2 separate regions of the Homo sapiens genome follow, and region 2 is linked to region 1. Evidence: promoter capture Hi-C in 16 types of primary human blood cells and fetal thymus (Javierre and others, 2016). All regions are on one chromosome and are shown on one strand. Each heading gives the region's core, a stretch centred on a gene start or on the middle of the fragment in contact. The rest is flanking DNA. Distances are from core to core; before and after follow the strand shown. Region 1 holds the start of KRT79 (keratin 79). Region 2 holds the start of KRT74 (keratin 74).

What was found. Contacts are between HindIII fragments. The CHiCAGO score rates a contact against its expected background, and 5 or more counts as called.
Region 2: a fragment that was not itself captured here is called in contact with the fragment with the promoter of KRT79 in region 1 in 6 of 17 cell types (naive CD4 T cells, naive CD8 T cells, total CD4 T cells and 3 more); the score reaches 10.8 in naive CD4 T cells.

What each region holds. Positions count from the first base shown.
Region 1 is chr12:52,832,173-52,839,177 of GRCh38, forward strand. KRT79 (keratin 79) reads right to left here and starts at 2,139. Exons shown (of 9, transcript NM_175834.3): 1 at 1,612-2,139. The coding sequence starts at 2,088. It overlaps KRT78 (keratin 78), which reads right to left. Exons shown (of 9, transcript NM_173352.4): 9 at 5,635-7,005. The coding sequence ends at 6,941. RefSeq lists an enhancer at 4,611-5,810. The HindIII fragment of the contact is 16,661 bases long and covers 1-7,005 here.
Region 2 is chr12:52,568,030-52,575,274 of GRCh38, forward strand. It overlaps KRT74 (keratin 74), which reads right to left and starts at 5,814. Exons shown (of 9, transcript NM_175053.4): 1 at 5,278-5,814; 2 at 4,424-4,638; 3 at 3,915-3,975; 4 at 3,330-3,425; 5 at 2,640-2,804; 6 at 1,830-1,955; 7 at 140-360. The coding sequence starts at 5,748. RefSeq lists an enhancer at 4,239-4,408. The HindIII fragment of the contact is 4,039 bases long and covers 1-3,572 here.

The DNA.
Region 1 (7,005 bases), core at 889-3,388:
TGGGAGGATCACTTGAGCCCAAGAGATGGAGGCTGCAGTGAGCTATGACTGTACCACTGCACTCCAGTCTGGGAAACAGAGCAAGACCCTGTCTCAAAAAATAATAATAATAAATTAAGAAAATTGGTGAACTGGGTGAAAGAGTATACAGGAGTATGTTGTACTATTCTTGCAACTTTTCTGTAAATTCAACATTTTTTCCCAAAAAAAACTTTTTTTAAAGTACCAATGTCTGAGCCCTTCCTCTATAGACTCAGAAGGAGGCTTACGGTGTGGGTTTAACAGGACCCCCGAGAGTTCTTGGCCCAGCTGGGGTTCCAAGACAATCTCTCAGACCTCCAGCTCCCAAGCTGTGATTCTGCAATCCTGAGAAAGGTTTTGGCTTGTTTGGCCTCTGGGACAGTCCCACAGGAAAACCAAAAGTCACTAGGGGAGAGGGTGAGGAGGCAGGCAAGACGGCTTGCTTCATATTCTGTCATCCAATATCTCCAGGTCCCATCTCCACACTACCTGGGCCTCAGTCACATGCCCTGGGAGCATCATGCAGCAGGTGTGCCTATTGTGAGCAGTAACAACTCTTAGTGCCAAGAACCACAGAGTCCAGGGGCCTGGGTCCCAGTCCCGCCTCTGCCTCCAACTCCTTGTATCATCCTGGGCAAATCACTTGAGCTCTCTAGACCTCAATTTTCTCATCTCAAAAATGGGCACAATATCACCATTTCTGAGTCTTCATAGAAGCACTGTGGGTACCTCAGGAGAAAAGGGATGTGCATGTTCTTCGGAAACACACAAATCACTGAACCAAGGTACATTTGTCTGCCAGACCTTCCCCATCATGACCCGCTGCCTTGGCTCAGGATCGAGGTGGACAATGCCAGCGAAACAGACCAGGAAATCCCAGCACAAGTGTTGCTCCCATCCATCTGGAGGCAAGGGCAAGGTTCAGGGCATGCCTATGGGCAACAGGTCAAATTCCACATTCCCAGAGCTTGGTGACCTGGTGACCACCCTCCTCATTGTCCACCCCAAATTGAGCTTCTTCACTCAGAGTGTAAAAAAAGGAGAAGCGGAAGGGAGCCTACCCCTAGGACCCCACCCACACACAACTGTGTTTTGATCACATCTTGCCCTTAAGCCTCCTCCAAGCCTGAAAGAATGGAACAAACAGGGCTCCATGCTCTTAGCCTTGAACAACTCTTTCAACTCCTGAGCATTGTTTCCCCAGCTGTAAAATGACAAAAGGCAATGCAGGCCACCCCACTAAGAGGAGCTATGAGGACAATCCATTTTTTGATGATGAGGTAAGGCTACTGTGCAATCAATCGTATTAATCATGGTGGTAGGACAGGCTTCAACACGGGCAAGGTGGACTTGGCAAACCGGACTCATGAGTAGACTGGAGACTCCCCCCGCACAGGCACGGTGAAGACCTGAAGGCCGCCTCCAGCCACCCACGTCTCGGCATCCCAGGCTCAGACCGGGAGAGCTCCAGAGCTCTATCAACCACCACCCTAGTACAAGTGGGCTACAGCAGCCCTGGCCCAGCCCACCCTCTATTAGAGGTCCCGCTTCTTCCCCAAGAGCTCCCTTCCTCCTTCCTGCTTGGCCCACCTTGTCGATGAAGGAGGCGAACTTGTTGTTGAGGGTCTTGATCTGCTCCCGCTCCTGAGTGCGCACTCGCTGGATCTCGGGGTCAATCTCCACATGGAGGGGGGTCAGCAGGCTCTGGTTGACAGTGACCTCCTGGATCCCCCCAGGAGGACAAGCAGGCCCAAACGTCTGCCTGCCAGCCCCCTGTCCCATAAATGCCCTGCTGCCAAAGCCAAAGCCCCCCAGAGCCCGCCCCAACAAGGCCCCTCCGGCCACACTGACAGAGATACTCTTGTGGCCCCCCAAGTTATAGAGGCTTCGGCTGCCAAAGCCACCTGTGCCGGGGCCACAGTGGGCCCCGCCACCACTGCCACTGCTCCGAGACACCGTCACTGAGCTGAAGCTGGTGCGGGCCTGGGACCCACTCCCTCCGCTGGCAGAGTTGGAGCTGAAGCCCCCTTTTGTGGAGTATGTTTGCCGAGAGACGGAGGACCTCATAGCTGCAGAGGGGCCGGAGGGCAGGATGAGAGGGCAGGAAGGGAGTGCCGTGAGCTGCTGGGCCACTGTGGGCTTTTTATCTTTTCCCAACTGGGCCGGCTCCCCAGCTCCACAGACACTCCTGCCCCATCGCCCCAAGGGGAGAGGGAGGGGTCCTTAGGGCCACGGGGAGTGCCCTCTCCCCAAGCAGGAGGGAGGGGCCCTCCCGGTTATCACCTGTGCTCCAGAGCTGGGGCTGAGCCGAGACTGTCTGGGGCAGGATGCCACCTTCTCCCCCTGCCCCCAGGCTCTCCTCGGTTGGCACAGGATGATACGGGCTCCCATGGCCACCCCCACCACCCAGTGGCTGGCTTGCTGTCCTCCCACCCAGCCCCAGAGGCCACTGTCAATAGGGCTCTGTTCTACGGGGTTTGTCCCAGGCCCCTGTTGTAAGCCAAGGCTGCAGGGCCTGGGGCTGTACAGGTGGTAGGAGAAGGAGCATTGGGCAATGGGCTGCCAGAGAGAGCATCCAGGCCTGCTCCCATCCCACCCCCAGCCAACGGCCCACCACTCCTCCCAGGTCCAGGGTGTGTGACACAGGTGACAGGGCGAGAGTGGGGATAGCCTGTGCCTCTGCCGTACAGTGGCAGAGCCTTCTGGGAAGTGAGCCTATGCTGGCAAAGTGAATTCAAGGACAGAAAGAGGATCCCTGCCCAATCGTGGGGCCCAGGCCCTTGATCAGGAGGTAGAAAAGGCCTGGGGTCCTCAGGCAGGGCCCAGAAGCCTGGGAGCAAAGGACATTCTTATGGAGGCTGAAGAGAGGGCAGGGGATTTAACCAATACCTGAGATCCCTGAGCCTCTACCCCACAGCAGAGTCCCCACAGAAAGGTTCAGCCACTTTGGAGGGAGCTGGAGGTGGGTCAAGGACACAGACCACCCTGGGTGGAGACAGGCACAGCTCCAAAAAGCAGGTGTTCCAAAAAAGCCCCAGGAGGCCCACGCAGCAGCCCCGTCACTCCCATCTTCCCCTGCCCCACATGCAGGAGCCCATGTTTCTGATTCAGAGGGGCCAGGGGAGCTCCTTAAATCACCTCATATGGTCCCCGCCGCCCACTTCCTATTCACCTCAGTCTGCTGGGACCAAACACAGCCCCAAGCAAAGACAGAGACGTCAACTGTCAGGGCCGAGGGGTGACTGAGGAGGTGACTTTAGACACTGGCCCTCCCCACCCCCTTCTCTCAGCAAGAAGATGGGCTCAAAGTGAACAGAGACTTGCCTGAAAAAAAGGAGCGAGGACAGCATCGCTGTGCTCCCCACCCCCATCAGATGAGCAGGACAACCAGCCAGGCTGTGTCCCCAGGATCCCAACAGAGAGGACATGGGACTGCCACGGAGAAGGCTTGGCCTCCCTCCCATGTTCCCCACAGCCCAGCAAGTGAAGAGACAGCCTGCTCCAGGACCAGAGGGAGCTGTGGGATCTTCTCCTAGGGCCCCTGGGAGGCTGTAAGTGGCTCCCCGTTGCTTGAAGAGGTTGAACCCAGCTCCCACAAGGAATGGGAGTGAGAGCACTTGCAGAACTAGTCCCTTAATAGCCAAGAGGAGATTTTGGAGTTAGGACACTGGGCATTTCAGGGAGCCAAGCCGAGACGTCTCCCACACTGAGCTGTGTGTCCTGGGGCAACTCGCAACTTCTCTGAGCCCCATTTTCTCTGCCTATAAGCAGGGCCCTCCGTGGAAGACCTTTCGAAAAGTGATCCCTGGATGAAGCCGCCCCTTCCCACTGACCTTCGTCTCCTTTCCCCAGGCTGAGATCACTTTCTCAGCCTCCCTTATCTCTCCCTGGGTGGCGTGGGAGGAGGAAACAGTCATGAGTGGGCCCTAGCCTCCAGGATGTGGCTGTGGGCCCCCTGGGCAAGGAAGTGTTGTCAGCCCTCTGAGTCACAGGGCAGCCAGGCTGGTGGGAGTGAGAGGCAGTCGATAAACACAAGTCTCACCTCACCCCAGACACGACACTCACGCCAGTCCCTTGCACACATTTACCAAGCACGCTCTCTGGGCCACGCTTTGTGCTGGGAGCTGGTGACAGGCACACAGGGACCAGGGCACACTCTCATGGAGCTCCCGGCTTGCTGCTTGGAGACAGCCTCCCTCCCACCCAGGTTCACAGCCCAGGCCCAGACAGAAGCCTGGGAGGGCACTTTGCCTCCACCAGCCCCTACTCTCCACTCTACCTTCAGACAGGACATGCACGCTCAGACCTTCTTTCTGCAGCCCAGGGAGGAGCAGTTTCCTCCCCTCCTGCCCTCCACAGAGAGGAAGAGCTGCTGCACACTGCTATACTGATTACTGAGGGGCTCCATCTCTGGAGACTGTCACCTGCCCAGAGTCCCTCCCTGATGGCAGGACACAAAAGCAGAGGGGACTGAAGGTTGCTGCCACCAAAGGGAGGGGGCAAGAGAGTGGATACTGCCAACCTAGCACCTACCATGGGTCAGGCCGGGTGCCGAGCAATAGGAAAGTTACAGGGACAAAGGAGCCCCAAGAGGGTAGGGCTTTCTGAGCTAATTATCATCATTATTACAGTCAACACTTACTGAGCACGTACTATGCAGCAGAGTGGCCTGGATGCCTTCCCTGCAATGGCATGTTGAGTCTCCGCACTGGGTGATGCTCCATCTGCCTCCCTCCCGCTCCATTCTCCACCTTCCTCTGACCCTTGTGGGCTGCTCCCTGGCACTCTGGCTTCCAGTTGAGTTGACCAAAGGGAGACACCAGCAGGAGATCAGAGGGAGGAGACAGGTCAGATGTTTCTTCCCAGCTCCCTCCCTGCTTCCAACCACTTCAGACCACTGTCTGGGGACATGGCTACATCTCCCCATGATTACAGCTTCTGCCACCTCACTGCTTCTCTTGATCTTCAGCTCTACATAAGGCGACCAGCCCATCCTGATTTTCTCAGGACTGCCCAGCTTTAGCACTGCAAGTCCTCTCAGTCTTGGACACACTGAGAGGGTGGACCTCACTCTAGGTGTGGTAACGGCTTCTCGCCATTGCTGGTCCCTGGCCTCTCCATCCCTGTTCCCTCAGCCCTAACCACACCTCTGCAAGTAATCCTTTCCTTAAAGTCAATTTAGCCCTCTCAGGTCCTCACTTCCAAGAAGACAAAGAAAAGAAGGAACAACAATCACGCCCACGACCACGTGCAGCCTATTCACTACACAAACCCCACCTGACACGTGCCCGAGGGCAAGGCCATTAAGGAGGTCTTAGTCTGAAAAACGTGGTAGAGTCCACCGCCATCAGGAACATTTCCAAAGCGAGTGTCTTGGATGTCTGGGTGCTTCCCAGGCTGTATGTGAAACTGCATTACCATGTGAGGTGAGTCACTCATAGCAGGCCAGGCAGGAAGCAGCCTTGTGAAGCCCAGAAGGACCCAACACCCATATCCCTAGTCAGAACAGCTGGTGCTGCCCACAATCTCCGCCAAAGCCCATGTAAGGGGCCGAATCCCTCAGCACTAAAGAAAAGACTATCCTCTGGGGAAAAAAGAAAACGGAAATTATACTTTTTCAAAAAGTCAATTTAATTGAACTACCTTGGATGAATTTAGTTTCCTTCTGGGATCCTAGTGGCACTGTCGCCACACAGCCCTGTGAGGTACATATTATTATTAATCTCTTTTTACAGATGAGGTAACTGAAGAGGTCAAGCTGCTTGATCAAGGTCACACCACTAGGAAACAGCAGAGCTGGGATTCAAGCCACATCCTCACCGGCTCTGGTCTCCTTCACACAAAGCTGAAAAGCCTTCTTGCATAATTTGGATGGAGCGATTCATGAATCTGAGGAAAGGTCTGCCCTCCCTCTAAAGCAAGGAGAGGCGTAGTGTGACCTCCTGCAGCCCAGACTATGGAGTTTGGGGTTGAGCCAGGTCCCCCACCTGGGTCTGGAAAGCGAGAATGGGGAAAGAGCAACTGCAGGCACCCATGAGGCTGCTGGGGGTGTGTAGAAAAGGTGATCCTTCCAGCCCCTCCTGGCACCCCACCTGATTCCCACACTCCTGGCTTCCTGCAGAGCTTCCTGAAGGAGAGGAAGGAGGAGAAGTTTCCAGCCTCATGTTCACACTTGCCCAAGGATAAGATGAGAGCCAACAGATAAGGGGGTAGGGGCAGAGTTTGAACCCCAATCTCCATCAGAGCCCCCAGGCACAAGCTGAGCACATCCTCATCCTGGATGCAGGAGTGCCAGGCTAATAGAGAAGCTGAGTCCCTTACCAGAGCCAGACAGACATAGCACCCAGGACAGCAACAGGTGCAGCCAGACTGCCAGGGACAGGAAGGGCCCAGTAGTTTAGACATGGGAATTAGAGAAGGTTCCTAAAAGGAGAAAATTTTGGTGCACAGTCAGGAAGAAGGAGGAACAAGAAGGAAGGGGGCTGCCCCAGTCAGGACTAGAACCTCTTAAAACAGGCAGTTGATGAGGAAGTGAGCTACAAGCACAGCTAAAACATCAGTGGAGTTGTGGGAGATGGAGGGCACCCCAAGGAACACACTGGAGAGCTTGAAGGATCCCTTGATAGAGTGGCTGGGATGTGGAGTGAGATACCAATAGAACACGTCTGGACACAGATATGCCACAATTGCCTTCCGAGGAGAGGAAGCTGGGGAGCCACACAGCTTTTGTTTTGCTGGGTGAGGTGTGCAAGCACTTAGAGCATTCAGAACAGCAGGAGGGGAGACTTTATTGATTTTTGCAGCATCCGCTGTGGGCTGGCTTGGGCTGTGGGCAGCGGACACGGAGTTGGCCTTGCAGAGCCGGCTGATGGGGGGAGTGGGCCAAATGTGTTCAGGAAGGAGGTGGCTGCTGGGTCGCTCAGTAGGTGATGGATGTCTTCAGACTCGACTCAACTGTCTTCTTCAGGATGGTGTGGCAGCTGG
Region 2 (7,245 bases), core at 303-2,802, 260 kb before region 1:
GAAGCTGCCTCTGAGTTCACGAAATCACCACATCTCTTGCTTGTATTGGCACTAACCATGTTGTTCTCCAGGTGGCCCCTCAGCCAGACAGGAGCCACACCCCAGTCCCTTCTCACACTTTCCCCTCCACCCCACCTACCTGCACTCCTCGCCCTCCAGCAGCTTGCGGTAGGTGGCAATCTCCATGTCCAGGGCCAGTTTCAGGCTCATGAGCTCCTGGTACTCGCGCAGCATCCGCGCCAGCTCCTCCTTGGCCTGGTGCAGGGCGCCCTCCAGCTCATCCAGCTTGGCCTGGGCATCCTTCAGGGCATTGTCTCCCCGCTGCTCAGCGTCAGCGATGGCCGTCTCCAGGCTGGCACGCTGAAGGGCAAAGAACAGAGAGACCATCAGAACAGAAAATTACATTTAGCTCATACCAGTTAAGTAGAACAATGCCCTCATTTTGCAGATGGGGCCCTAGGTGACAAGGAGTAAAAGCTGCAAAGCCAACACCAGAACTTTGTCTCTTCTATTTTCTATTGCAGAGGAGTATTCAAAGCTGTTATCACATGAAGCTGTGGAAGCAGTTGCATTTCAGGAGGTCAGGAAGAAATGTCGATGTTTGCAAAGTTAGATAGTGCCTGAGACCGGAGGCCACCAGTATCTACAGATTCAAAATACTACAGGTTCAGGAAAATCATGCCCGATCCCCTAGCAAGGCCAGCCCTGAGGATGAGACAGTATGCCACGGTCCCACTGTGATCAGATTCCTGCTGCAGGACCTCTCCCCATTGGGGATCCTTCTGATCTGTTAGCATCCAGATGAGTGTTTCTGGACTCCAGCACTCTGGGGAGAGTCTGTGTGAAGGCTCCCACATCTGGCCTTCCCTTAGAGCAGGAGGATAAGGCCCTAAATTATAGGCACAACCTCAGAAGCTGGACTCTGATGAACATCTGGGGGGCATTGCGATGCCTGTTGCTAACAGAGAGGGAGGAACTATGCTCATGGAATTTGTGAATCGGCCAAATGTAGAGTCGTAGAGTTGTCCCTGTGTTTGCCTGCAGAGCATGGAGGGTTGTGGGGGCACCAGAAGGAGAACAGGCTCAGATCTTTCCGCTGGTCAATTCTATCACTAGCAGAGCAGACCTGGTTCTCAGAGAGGTCACAGGAAGGATCCTCCAGCCTCCAATATCATCTCCCCACTGACGCAGTGTTTAAAATTTGCTGCTGTCAGGTAAGACAGGCCCCCCACCCCCACCCCCCCGCCCACTAACATGGAAGTAGTACCATGGCACAGGGCAAGGGAACCCAGGAGGGCTTCATCGACAGCTGTGTCCCTCAGTCAACAGACCATGCCCCACTCCGAGAGCAGGAACCTGGTGTGGCCAACAGAGGCGCCTGATGCATACCCTCTGCACCCCACACATGTTCCATGTCCAGTGGGAGGAGGAGACAGAGGGTCTGCCCTCAGAGGGGGCACCCAAAGGGGACATGGGGCAGGTTCATTGGACACAGAAAAAATCTGCAGAAGGGGAACCTGGGTTCTAATCCTAGCTCCATTCATTACCAGCTGGGGGCTCTGGGAAAGTCCCTTCCCCTTCCCAGCCCAGTTGCTTTATCTGCAAAATGAGGAGTCAGAGAAATAGGTTTGAGGCTCCTCCCAGTTCTGGGCGGGGTACCAGCTCTGATGGTAGGGTACCGAGGCAGGGTGGGAAAGGGAGACTGTGGGTGGCCGAGGGACCCCTAAGCCCAGCAGGGGATATTTGCTTGTTCCCAAAGGGCAGGCCCCATTTCCTCATCCCAGAGCCTGCTGTGGAGACCGGGAGTTCTTTGTGGGGCTGCTGCCCACCTGCTTCTTCACATTCCCGATCTCACACCGGATCCTCTGGATGAGCCGGTTCAGCTCCACCATCTCGCTCCTGGTGTGTTTCAGGTCGTCACCATGCCGACTGGCTGCCAGCTGCAGCTCCTGGATCTGGTTTCCCAGAGATAGGAAGTTGGTGATGAGACAAGGGCACTGGGGAAGGGTCCTGTAAATAAGCCACCCCTGCCACCCTGGCTGTCGGTGGGATTTAACGGAACTGAAGAGGAGTGCTGGGACAGGGTCCTGGGGGCCCAGGTAAGGGGTTTTCTCCCTGACAGCCCCAAACATAGTTCCATTACTCAGTTTACCCAAAGCATAGTTCCATTACTCAGAGCACTCCTCGCCTTCCATTTCCTTTTGAAAGTCTTCCCGTGGGGATCAGGAAAGAGCTACAGGCTTCTCCTTCTCTCACTCGCCCCCCACCAAATTCACCCATGGCTACACTCCCGCAAGTCTGTGATTCTCCCTCTGCCCTGTGGCAACATGCCCCCATTCCTATAAGTGTGTTTGTTTTACCACCTCACTTCTTTCACCTGCAACAGAGAGGAACAGGCAGTTCGTGGATGGAGGAAAGAAGTGAGGGATCCTCTCTGTTGCATATATTCAATCCATACCAGTTTCATGATTTATCTTTGATAACAAGCTCTGCTAAGAATTCCTTTTTTCCTTGAAGCCTTGGTTGGAACCTTTCTTTCATTCAGCATGCCCACAAAAGTATTCCTCACATTCACTGTGCAGGTGACCCCTCCCAGGAAGCGAAGGGCTGCTGTGGGAGGAGACCCATTCGGTGACCACCTTGGTCTGGTACAGGGCCTCGGCCTCGGCCTTGCTCTTCAGGGCGATCTCCTCATAATGCATGCGGACCTCAGCGATGATGCTGTCAAGGTCCAGGTCCCGGTTGTTGTCCATGGACAGGATGACAGAGGTCTCACTGGCGTGAGTCTGGATCTGAGCGATCTCCTGCATTGAGAGAGGAAGACAGATTCAGCAACCCCCTGGCTTCCCTCTTCTGCCCCATCAGTCTTCTGGGCCCATGGTCCCTGGCCCAATAGGCTGCTAGGATCCACGGGGACAAAGTAGGGGGAAGAAGTGCCCTCTGGGATGTGTCTGCAGAGCTGAGGGAGAGCAGCTAACAGCAGCAGGAACCCCTGCATATGGCAGATGCCCGCTGGCACATGCAGACGGGTGAATAATGCATTTTCCACAATTTCACAGAATCCAAGGCTCTGTGCTTTGTAAGACCTCACTGGGTTATCTTTTCCTGCCCGTGGGCAAGTCCACTATTGTATCAAGATCAATTTCCTCCTGTATGTATGGCCTCCAAGGACCAGCATCCTGCACTTCCATGGTCTCCTGGTGCAGGGTTTTGTACCTTTCTACCAAAACATCTTTCATTTTGTTGATCCTAAATCTCTCCTTTTGGTATCTCCCTGGAAGAGTCGGGAAGGAGGCAGGGTGAGGGTGGGGGGACAGGAGTGTCCTTACTGCATCATACAGACACTTGAGGAACTTGATTTCTTTGTCCAGTGAGTCCACTTTGGCCTGAAGCTCCACCTTGACTGCGTAGGCTGCATCTGCATCCTGCCAAGAGGCCCCAGAGTCATTGGGGGATGCAACCCTCATCCCACAGCTGCCCTGCCCAACTCCTGCCTCAAAGCCACCTGATTTTCTATTTTCTACCCACAAAGGAAAGCTCACTCAATATCAATTTCTTCTCAGGCTGCCTGAAGCTTTGGGAATAGGGAAAGGAGGATGGGGCAGCTCTGTTATGCCTGGAGAAAACAAAGCCCAGAGAGGTAGTAGGTTTCCTCAGGTCACACAGCAAGGTTGAGCTGGACCCGAGTTTCACAGTTCCCAGACCAGAATTCTGTCTGTCTCTGTCCATTTCCTGAGTGTGTGTCTTTCCTCTCCAACTCACTGGAGGCCAGGACTATGACTCCACCCTCACCAGGCACCAGCCCCCTCACCAGGCACCAGCCCCCTCCCCAGCCTCCTGGGCTGAAGTCCTGAGCAGAGTTGTTAAGATGGGGGTGCGAGAGACCCTAATAAGGAGGCTCCTCCCTCTCTTACCTTCTTAAGCACCACAAACTCATTCTCTGCTGTCGTGCGCCGGTTAATCTCCACTTCATATCTGCCAGCAGGGAGAGTAGATGGCCTTAGCCCCCTTAGCCAAGGAACTTTCTCTTCCTGCTGGCCAGGCAAATGTTTGGGATACAGGGTCCCTGCAGGGTCTCTGGGGTGAGCAGTAAGAGGCTAGTGACAGGAGTAAGATATCCCTGAGTTGCTTCACTTGTCTCCTAGTTTTTGCATGTTAGGAAAACACCCAGGTGCCTATTGGGCTCCCGACACCAGCAACTGAACATTTCAGTGGGTCAAGGAGCACAGGAACCGCTTCCTATCAACTAGGCAGGAAGTTATCATCAAAGAGGATAGGCCCTTCCCCCTAGCCAGAGAAAGGGATGTGAGCTCCTGACCCTGGTGCATACTCCCCCATCTCCTAAAAAATAATGGCACAGAGATCAGGTGAGCCCAGAGGCACGGGAAACATGGTCTGTGACCCTCGGGTGGAGCCTGCTCACCTCTTCTTATAGTCCTCCACCAGATCCCTCATGCTTCTCAGCTCCGAGTCCAGCCTCACCCTGTCCCCAGACAGTGTCTCCAGCTGCTTCCGCAGGTTGCTGATGTAGCCCTCAAGGATGGGCTCCAGGTTCTTCTTGCAGTTGTTCAGGTCCAGCTGCTGCAGCAGCTCCCACTTGGTTTCTAGAACCTGGTTCTGCTGCTCTAGGAAGCGTACCTGGAACCCAAATCAACAGACACCTGGAACCACAATGGGTGCAGTCATGCCCCCTGGACACACACCATTGACTCCCCAGGTTTGCCATAGATTGTTGTAGTCATTTTTGCTCATGTCTTGACTCTCCACCCTTGCCATTCCACACAAACTAGATCCTTTACAAGTGCTCATTTCCTAGCCTTCTGGACAAGGCATCACTGAGAACTCACTCAAGGAGTTTCCACAGCTTTCTTCTATTGCTCGGCCCTGGTCCCAGGAGATGTCCTTCCTTATGTCTCAACTAAGTGTCTCTTCCTGTACCATGAGCCCTTCCCTCTGAACACTGCTGGATTCTATTAGCCTTTCATGTTCTTGGAAGATCCAGCTGTCCTCAAGAAACTCATCACTTTTTTGTCAAGGAAGGGCTGCTCTTTACCCAGCTTCCCATCCTTCCCTGCAAAATCGCCAAAGAAGCCGATATATTCATGTATTCCTTTGTCCTCCGTGGCTCACAGACCTACTCTCCTTCCCTAATGGTGAGGAAGCCCTTCCTGAGGCCCAGCTGCACCTTTCCAGCCACAGTGTGCAGTCCATTCCCAGGCAGCAGGAAAACTGCTCAGGCCTCAGGGTGCGGCCTCATCCTCCTCCTATGAGACCCACCTTGTCAATGAAGGAGGCGAACTTGTCGTTCAGCACCTTGATCTGTTCCCGCTCCTGGGCGCGCACCTTCTGGATCTCAGGGTCCAGCTCCACGTTGAGGGGGGCCAAGAGGCTCTTGTTGACAGTGACCTGGTGGATGCCCCCAGGTGGGCACACAGACAAACATGCAGGCCCCAGGGCCACACTGCCAAACATACTGCCAGCAAAGCCACTGGCCCGGCCCCCTCCATACCCAGAGCCAGGCCTGAAGCCGTAACCTCCAGCCCGAACGCCGCCACCAGCCACATTGAAAGAAATACGCCGATTCCCTCCAAGGCTATAGAGGCTCCGACTGCCAAAGCCAGCGCCAGCCCCTCTGCCAGCTGCACAGTAAGAAGCCAGGCTACCCACAGCCTTCCTTGGCACCACTGCCGAATGCACACTGAAGTTGCCCTTGTCACCACTGGACTTGATGTTCAGTTGCCGACTCATGGTGGGAAAGGTTGAGTTGACAGAGCTGGAGAAAAGCAGTCTCCAAGGGGTAGAGAACACACTGATGGGGCACCCAGAGTGCTGCCTCCTTTTATCCCTGTTGAGCCCAGGACACCGGAAAAGGGCGTCTCTCCACTATCTCCTTTCCCCTGCTGATGGGCCAGGGGCCATGGGCAATTTGTAGAACAGAGATCTCCAAGCCCTTTGCAGCAACAAAGCTCTTCTGATAGCAAGTGGAATATGCTGCCCTTGCAGAGTGGAGTGGTCTAATTTGGAGTTTATCTGTGCTCCCTAATTAAGGACCTGAAGAGTTATCCCCTGAAGAGATCTCCTAGCTTTATTTTTCCAGTGCTACCTCCTTCTTGCTTAACCATCAGCAAGGAGCAGGGGAAATGCCTGGCTTTCCCCAGAGTAGACTCACCTGAAAAACCCCAGGTTTCTTCCCAAAAGAAACCATCTCTCTATTATAGGGTCTTGTGTGGAAGCTGGAATTTTTACCTCAGGGAAAAGAAGACATGGAAAGATGATTCTTCTTGGAAAGATGTCCTCAAAGATCTGGATCTGGGTAAGAAGCTCCAGGGTCCGTCCTTGGGCCATGCTAAGGACCACAGCTGTCTAGCAGTGAAGTGGACCCCAGGAAGGAAGAGGAATGACTCTGCAGCATCTGCATGCCCCCCTAGCAGGGATATTGTCTAGGGCCTTCTGTGTTGGGCAGGGCCTGGGTGGTGGTGACCTTGACATTGCCTTACAACCATGAGAACCTTTCCAGTCAGCTGCATTTCCTCCAGTTGGATTTTCTCTCCTGGATAAGATTATTTGTCCTACTCTAGGAAGTCAGGCAGGAGCTGGGATATTAGCCCCTGCACTCCCTGGGGAAACACCCTATGGCTGAAGTCACCAAGGAACAGGACCCCCTGAGTTTCACTCCCAGGTTCAGGGTGGGCTGTTCTGCCAGTTTCCTGGCAACTTCAGGGAGCACTCAATTTTCAAACAGGAAGTATCACTGCTTTATAGCTCAGGTAGTGTGGGTACAGTGCAATGTTAAAAAATTATTTCAGGGCTGGGCATGGTGGCTCACACCTGTAATCCCAGCACTTTGGGAGGCCAAGGAGGGCAGATTGCCTGAGGTCAGGAGTTTGAGTCCAGCCTGGCTAACATGGTGAAACCCCGCCTCTACTAAAAATACAAAAATCAGCCGAGCGCAGTGGTGCATGCCTGTAGTCGCAGCTACTCAAAAGACTGAAGTAGAAGAATCACTTGAACCTGGGAGGCAGAGGTTGCAGTGAGCCTAGATTGTGCCACTGCACTCCAGCCTGGGCAACAGAGCAAGACTCTGTCTCCAAAAAACAAAAAAAATTATTTCAAAGCTAGGTATCTGGCAGCTGCCCTCATGCAAGACTCTGACCACTTCCTATAACTAAACTGAGAACACTTGGCTTGTTTGGATCCAGCCGAGGGCAGAAGACAACTGCTCCCACTGCTGGGGAGGGAAAAGGA